Linked DNA regions of Homo sapiens: region 2 is linked to region 1. Evidence: promoter capture Hi-C in human tissues and cell types (Jung and others, 2019). All regions are on one chromosome and are shown on one strand. The core of a region is centred on a gene start or on the middle of the fragment in contact, and the rest is flanking DNA. Distances in the headings are between cores, read along the strand shown. Region 1 holds the start of ADA (adenosine deaminase). Region 2 has its middle 8.2 kb from the start of GTSF1L.

Evidence for each region. The method cuts DNA at HindIII sites, captures the fragments that hold promoters and counts their contacts. A contact is called where the count stands out against the background at its distance.
Region 2: a fragment that was not itself captured here is called in contact with the fragment with the promoter of ADA in region 1 in 1 of the 25 tissues and cell types used here (pancreas).

What each region holds. Positions count from the first base shown.
Region 1 is chr20:44,650,352-44,654,341 of GRCh38, forward strand. ADA (adenosine deaminase) reads right to left here and starts at 1,348. Exons shown (of 12, transcript NM_000022.4): 1 at 1,224-1,348. The coding sequence starts at 1,256. RefSeq lists enhancers at 797-906, 1,137-2,120 and a silencer at 1,157-1,546. The HindIII fragment of the contact is 13,377 bases long and covers 1-3,990 here.
Region 2 is chr20:43,716,643-43,720,907 of GRCh38, forward strand. No RefSeq gene overlaps it. Among named protein-coding and RNA genes, the nearest start is that of GTSF1L, 8.2 kb to the right of the region's middle. RefSeq lists a silencer at 3,773-3,973. The HindIII fragment of the contact is 4,595 bases long and covers 1-4,265 here.

The sequences.
Region 1 (3,990 bases), core at 98-2,597:
TGCACACTCACTGGATTCTCACCGGCACTTTTGTGATAGCTGTCATCATCATTCACACCTATTTCTTTTCTTTTCTTTTTCTTCTCTTTTTTTTGAGACAGGGTCTCGCTCTGTCTCCCAGGCTGAAGTGCAGTGGCACCATCACACCTCACTGCAGCCTCAACCTCCTGGGCTCAAGCGATCCTCCCGCCTCAGCCTCCTGAGTAGCTGGGACTACGGGAGTGCACCACCACACACACTTCCCCTAACTTTTTTTATTTTTTGGAGAGACGGGGTCTAGTTTTGTTGTCCAGGCTAGTCTCAAACTCCTGGACTCAAATGATCCTCCCGCCTCAGCCTCACAAAGTGCTGGGATTACAGGCGTGAGCCAACCTCCTGGGCCACTCACACCTATTTCTTAGAAGGGTAAGTTGAGGCTGACTGCAGCTGACTCCTTCCCCAACCACTCTCACACCCTACTGGCTGACTCACCCTGCTTGGCAGACTCCTGGGCCCCTCCTCTCGGACTCTGCGACAGGCCAAGGGGGTCCAGACCCTCCCTGACCCCAACAGTCCCAAGACGCCACAGCTGGTGGGCGGAGAAACAAGGGGATTCTCCCCTGGGGCCAGTGGCCATGGCTTGGCCTCGAGTGAACCCTGCTAGGGCCCCAAACCCAGGGCCTACCTAGCTCCTGTTCTTCCCGCGCGGGGGAAGGGGGGTGCTCTGCTCCCCTCCCTCCCCTTTCTGGCAGGGCTCACGGTTCTTCCCCGGGGCGCATCCACAAACCTGAGCTCCTTGGCGCTCACCACCATAACGCTGGCGTACAAAGCTGCTTCCATTCACTGAGCACTCAGTAGGCGCCGGGCACAGCACTAGGTGCCTATCCGGCGTAGACATCGGGCCTGATCATACAGCTGAGCTTCAGAGACCTCAAGTCCCTGCCCAGGCCCACACAGCGCTCAGCGGTGCTAGGATGCCCACTTGACAGACAGCGAAACTGAGACCCAGAGGGGTCAAGTCAGGGGCAGAAGCAGACTCTGGAGGCCTCCGGGTTCTGGACCTTCTCTGCCCCATTGTCCCTGATTAGCCCGCAAGCAAGCCACGGCCTAAGCCGAAGGAAGAACTCGCCTGCAGGAGCCCCCGTTCGTTCCCAGGGTTTGGACGCCCCGGGCTGGGCCCCGCTAAGCCCCTCGGGCCGCCCAGGCGCCGGACCCCCGTCCCCGGAGCCCCCGCGCGCGCTCACTTTGGGCTTGTCGAAGGCGGGCGTCTGGGCCATGGTGCCCTCGTGCGCCCCGGCGCTGCTCCCTCCGCCGCCGCTCGGTGGGTCTCTGCCGGCTCGGTGGCCGCTCGGCTTTCCCTGGGGCCAGCGGTGGCCGCGGCCGGCCACGCTCTTCTTAACGGGCCGGGCCCCGCCTCCCGCCCCGCCCGCCGCCGTTCCCGGGGCCCGCCCTCTCGCCGGAGCCCCCGCCCCGCCCGCCGGCCTGGATCGCGCATTTCCTGGAATTCTGGACCCGGCGTCCTCGCCCGCCGACCCGAAAACTACGGCCCCGCGGCGCCCGACCGGACCCACCTGTGGGCGCGCGCTCCAGCCGCCTCGCTGGGCGCTGCCTTCCCCCCGGCTCCTCCAGCAACTTTCAAGCGTCCCCCTGCAGTCTGGGCGCTGCTGTGCGCCAGGCCCAAGCTAGAAGCGGGGACCCCGGGAGCATCGCAAGCCTCGAGCGGCGTGCCTTCCACCGGATAGACGGACGCTCGTCGCAGAAACACACACCATAATTGTATAGTTAAGGAACTTTCGAGGGGGGCCAGCCGTGGCCTGCAGAACCTGCAGGAGTTCATCAGGGGTGGGTGGGGGTGGAGAGGACATTCTACGTGAGAGACTCCAGGGAGCTGGGAGTGAAAGGAGGCGAGGAAGGCTGGAGCTCGGAGGGAGGGAGAACACAGACAGTCCCCTCCTGGGCATTCACCTTTAAGAAACCCGCCCAGGCGCAGCCAGAGACCTGTGCAGAATGTTCACACCAGCGCTATTCCGAATAACAGGAACATTGGAAACACCCTCAAATGCCCCTCCACGGGCGAGTGGGCAAATAAACCGGAATATTCACACCATGAAACGTTAGACAGCAGTGAAACGGAATGAACTTCAGCCAGACAACAACAGAAACAATGTCTCAGAAACAATGTTGAGTGAAAAAAACTAAGTTGCGGAAAACTGCATACAATGGTGCAACTTTTAGAATGTGTAAAAGCAAAACCAAAAGTATGTATGTTTAGACACATGCATCGGTGGAAAAAATGTAAAGCAAGGGAAAGATGAGCATAGATACGAGAAGAGTGGTTATCTCAGGTGAAAGGGAAGGAGCCGGGAGGAGGTAAGGACGGAGGGAAATAACACGCGGGTACAGGTTATTTATTTATTTATTTATTTATTTATTTATTTATTTATTTATTTACTGAGACGGAGTTTCGCTCTTTCGCGGAGGCTGCAGTGAAGTGGCGCGATCTGGGCTCACTGCAACCTCTGCCCCTCTGGCCCGCCTCCTCCCCACCGCTCCCCCGCACCCCCAGCGTTTCAAGCGATTTTCCTGTCTCAGCCTCCCGAGTAGCTGGGATTATAGGCGCCCACAACCACGCCTGGCTAATTTTTGTTTTTTGTTTTTTTGTTTTTGTTTTTGTTTTTTTGAGATGGACTCTTGCTCTGTCGCCCAGGCTGGAGTGCAGTGGCGAAATCTCGGCTCACTGCAACCTCCACCTCCTGGATTTTAAGCAGTTCTCGGCCTCAGCGTCCCGAGTAGCTGGGATTACAGGCGCGTGGCACCGTGCCCTGCTAAGTTTTGGATTTGTAGTAGAGACGGGGTTTCACCATGTTGGCCAGGCTGGTCTCGAACACCTGACCTCACATGATCCACCCACCTCGGCTTCCCAAGGCGTGATTACAGGCATGAGCCACCACGCCTGGCCACACACAGGTTATTGATAATGTTCCAGTACTGGGGTGGATGGTAGCTTCATTTCATTTCATCATAAATAAATTAACAAACCCATAAACAAGGGGGAAAGAGAGAGTGGGAGAGTGGAGAGCAAGGGGCTAGAAGGTCTGATGGGAGCTGAATCCTGCCAGGGATGTGGGACCCAGCGATGGTGTGGGATTCCTAGGAAGTCAGTGGAGTGTTTTAAGTGGAGGCGAGACAAAATCACCCTTTTATTTGGAAAAAATATTCTCCAGCTACTGAAAGTGTGATCCAGGGATCATCAGCACCCACATCACCTGGGAGCTGACTACAAATGCAGACTTTCAGACCCCATCCCAGACCTACTGAAGTAGAATCTGTATTTTATACAAACAGGACCCCCAGGTGGTTCGCACCCACAGGGCACTTTGAGAAGCCTGGGCTCCCTGCTGTGAGGGGAGGGCATTACAGGGGGCCAGCGGGGGTGAGGGAGGACAGGATACCAGGAAGGAGGCAACTGCCATGGTCTGGGTAGGGCATAGTGATGTCAGTGGGGGAAGTGGAGAAACTCATATTCAAGCTGCATTTAGGGTGTAAAATCAGCTGGATTTGGGGTTTGGTTGTATGTGGGAGTGAGGGAGAGGGTGGCTGTATTAGTCCATTATTTTCATGCTACTGATGAAGACATACCCGAGCCTGGGCGCAGTGGTTCATGCCTGTAATCCCAGGACTTTGGGAGGCCAAGGCAGGAGGATCACCTGAGGTCGGGAGTTTGAGACCAGCCTGACCAACATGGTGAAACCCCGTCTCTACTAAAAAAAAAAAAAAAAATACAAAATTAGCCAGGCGTGGTGGTGTATGACTGTAATCCCAGCTACTCGGGAGGCTGAGGCAGGAGAATCGCTTGAACCTGGGAGGTGGAGGTTGTGGTGAGCCAAGATTACACCATTGCATTCCAGCCTGGGCAACAAGAGCGAAACTCCATCTCATGAAAAAAAAAAAAAAGACATACCTGAGACTGGGTAATTTACAAAAGAAAGAGGCTTTAATAGACTTACAGTT
Region 2 (4,265 bases), core at 867-3,366, 930 kb before region 1:
GCACAATGAGATGAGAGCAATTTCTCTCGTCTCTGCACCCAGTGGGCATCTCTGCAAAGCTCTGAGTATTAATAGCCATGGGGTTGGGCGGGGGTGGGCAGAGACTGGGGGCGGAGGAGGACGATGGGTTGGTGCAGTAGGGCCTTGCCTGGCCCTTGCCTTGGGTGGCTCACCTGCCCATTAACAAGCCCCTGCCTCAAGCTGAGCGTGGCCCCCAGGTCAGACCAGTAAGCAAGGAAGAGGGGTGAAGGCAGCTGGGCAGAACCCTCTAGCCCCATTGGCCAAGGCTGAGCAGGAGGCCAGGATGGGCCAGAGCCTCTGCCCTTGTGGCCCTAAATCCCTAGGGTTGTGGCTACAGAGCACAGTGCTTGGCAGGTGGTTGGGAAGAGTCACTGGGGATTGAAGAGGGGAAGATGCCAAGTCTGAGAATGTCTAAATGAGGAATTGATGTTTTCAGCAGCAGGCTTCATGGGACAGGCACATGAACATCCCTGTGGGCAGAGGTTGAGCAGACTTGGGGCAGGTCCTCACCTGGGGCAAGAGATGCGGCCAACTCTAGAGGGATGGGGACTGAGTTAATTAGGGTGCCAGAGTTCAGATGTGTCTGGCCTCAGACACACCCCTTTCTCCCTGCTGAGCTCCCGCCTACAGTCCCCCTACTCCTGTCCATTCACATGCAGGCATGCCGTGCTTGGTCCTGGCAGTGTCCCAGTTCTTGATCTAAAGCCGAGGAGGGGCGGGGGCTCTGTGCTTCCCACCCTGCACCCCGCACCCCGCAGCCCATGTGGCTGGGCTGCATGCACCTGCAGGTTCCATGGATGAACCACACCTAACTCACGCCCTGAGCTTTTGTGATTTGTCAGCATGGAGCCTATCCCCTCCCCAACTTCTTCCCCAAGGTCTGTCACTGGCCGCTCCCTACAGTCCTTGGTCACCCAAGGTGGATGACCTGTGCCCCACGGTGAGGATGGAGGCTGCATTACCTTGTCTCCTATAGCTCACACCAAGACTCGGTGGAACAACTTTGTCAAACTCAAATGCAGTGCGCTGCAGGCTAATGATGAAAATTCCTGGGCCCTCTGAGTCAGGTACCTGGGGTGGAGCCTGCAAAAAGGGATTTTTAACAAACCACCAGTGGGTTATTCACATGCAGGGCGTTGACTGGCTACACTCTGAGCTGACGCCTGTGAGGCTCCAGGGGCTTGTACCCCATGCCCTCTCTTGCCTGAGGTCTTGCTCATTCCCAGGGACTGCCCTCAGGCCCTTTCCTGTCCTGGAGGGAGGAGGCTGTAAAGAACAGAGTGGCTGCAGGTAACAGCAAGCTTAACATACCATCCTCACTGAGCTCTGTGTGCTGTGGGCTTGTTCTTTGGTTCATGCATTAAATAAATACTAGGCCGGGTATGGTGGCTCACGCCTGTAATCCCAACACTTTGGGAGGCCGAGGAGGCCAAATTGCTTGAGTCTAGGAGTTTGAGATAAGCTTGGGCAGCATCATGAAACCCTCTGTCTACTAAAAAAAAAATAGAAAAAATTAGCTGGGCATGGTGGCATGTGCCTTTAGTCCCAGCTCCTCGAGAGGCTGAGGTGGGAGAATCACCTGAGCCCAGGAGGTCGAGGCTGCAGTGAGCTGAGATCATTCCACTGCACTCCAGCCTGGGCAACCAGAGGGAGACACTGTCTCAAAAACAAAAACAAAACCACATTTATTGAGGGACCCTCCAACCCTACCCCCACATGTCTGGCATAGTTGTAGTGCTGAAGATATAGCAGTAAAGGATAGAAACCAGGCCAGGTGTGGTGGCTCATGCCTGTAATTTAGTACTTTAGGAGGCTGAGGTGGGAGGATCACTTGAGCCCAGGAGTTTGAGACCAGCCTGGGCAACATGGTGAAACCCCATCTCTACAAAAAATTTTAAAAACTTAGCATGATAGCATGATGGCTCATGCCTGTAGTCCCAGCTACTCAGGAAGCTGAGGTGGGAGGATCTCTTGAGCTGTGGTTGTGCCTCTCTACTCCGGCCTGAGTGACAAAGCAAGACCCTATCTCAAAAGACAAAAACCAAAAAACTACCTTATTCTCATGGAGCTTAAATTCTTTTTTTTTTTTTTTTTTTTGAGATGGAGTCTTGCTCTGTTGCCCAGGCTGGAGTGCAGTGGTGCGATCTTGGCTCATTGCATGCTTCGCTTCCTGGGTTCACACCATTCTCCTGCCTCAGCCTCCCGAGTAGCTGGGACTACAGGCACCCACCACCATGCCCGGCTAATTTTTTTTTTGCATTTTTAGTAGAGACAAGGTTTCACCGTGTTAGCCAGGATGGTCTCGATCTCCTGACCTTGTGATCCGCGTGCCTCAGCCTTCGAAAGTGCTGGAATTACAGGCGTGAGCCACTGCGCCCGGCCATGGAGCTTAAATTCTAAAAAGCAGACAGATATAAACCAACCAATTGATATAAAATGTGCCAGAGGGAACTTTGAAGTAAAGCAGGGGGTACCGTGAGGCCAGTCATCTGCTCAGAGAAAGTGGGGAGGAGTCAGATTTGACAGCTCCTGGCCATCATGGGGACAGGGAGAGCCCACATGGGAAGGCAGATTGGTTGCCACTCAGGAGGTGCTGGGGGCCCAGCTGCTGTTTGATCAGGAGTTTGGGGAACTTGGTCATGAGGATTGATCCAGGCCTGATGTTTCCCAGGCTAGTGTGGCAAGCAAGAAAGAGTTAGCCAGATAGCGCTGAGGGGCAGAGGGCCTGAGTTCAGGATGGTAGTACAGGAGTGGGGGTGCTGCGGTCAGCCTGGGAGAGGGACAGGCAGGAGGGAAAGATGAGGCTTAGTTAAGATGGCAGAGGGAGGCTGGGCGTGGTGGCTCATGTCTGTAATCCCAGCACTTTGGGAGGCCGAGGCAGGCAGATCATCTGAGGTCGGGAGTTTGAGACCAGCCTGACCAACATGGAAAAACTCCGTCTCTACTAAAAATACAAAATTAGCCGGGCATGGTGGCGCATGCCTGTAATCCCAGCTACTTTGGAGGCTGAGGCAGAAGAATCGCTTGAACCCAGGAGGCGGAGGTTGCGGTGAGCCAAGATCGCACCATTGCACTTACTCTAGCCTGGGCAACAAGAGCAAAACTATCTTGGAAAAAAAAAATGGCAGAGGGTGAATCTGCCATTCTGGCAAGATCCAGATGATTGTCTGGCATTTGGTGACCAGCATGGCCTGGAGGTGAGAGGCTCACAGATATAGAGGCTGTGGTAGATTGTTCCAGCAATGGCTCCCTAGGGATCACTGCTCCCTGTAGCTATTCCCATGAGTGGGTCATGTGGTTGACTTTGCCCCTGAGGGACTCTGGGAGAATCTGCTGAAGGAGGTGAGAATTCTAGCTGTTCTGGTTGAGACTCCAGACGTGAGTAAGGCCACCCTAAACCATCCAGCCTCACCTGATCTGGCCCAGACTGGAGGAACTGCCCATCTGATCACAAAGTCATGAGAATAATAAATCAGTATTGCTTTAAGCCCTAAGATTGAGGATGGTTTGTTACACAGCAGAAGCTGACTGATAGAGATGCTGGCATGAGGAACTGGGACATGTGAGTACTTAAGGTGGTCCAGGATAAAGATAAAATGTCCTTCTCAGAGCAAGGCAGGGACTGGGGCAGGAGCAGTTTTGATAGGCCAGGAGTAGTTTGGGAGTCTTAATTAGCCACTTTTTCAGCAGACCCTGGTGTATCACTGAGGAAAATCAACACTGAGCCATGGGCTCATCAGGGTTGGGGAGAAACAGGAGACCTAGGGTTCCAGGAACTTTGCGGGAAATGAATGGGGTGAAGGATTCTGGAGTTCAAAGCCACTGTGACCATACCTGTGTCTTGTTCCCCAGAGCTGAAGGCAGTGGGGAGAGATATGGCTCATGGCATCTGGCAGACTCTCCCAGGTCCTCCTGCAGTCCTGGGTAGAGCTCTTACTTTGGATCAGACAGACTTGGGTGTAAACCCAGCTTAGCTCTTGGGAGCTGTGTGTCTCTTCAATGCACTGAGCCTTGGCTCCTTGGCTGTAAAATAGGGAGAATCCTTCAACTTCAGACTTGTTGAAGGGATTGGGAAGAATATGGCACATACTTGGTGCTCAGATAACATGGGCTCTTAGTATGTTATTACTTAGTATGTTTTTACATGTTTCTCATTTCTTTGTTACACACAATATACCCTGCAAAGGAGAAATTAGTGCCCACGTTTCAGGTGAGTGCTGGGAGGGAAGATGGTAGACAGTGGT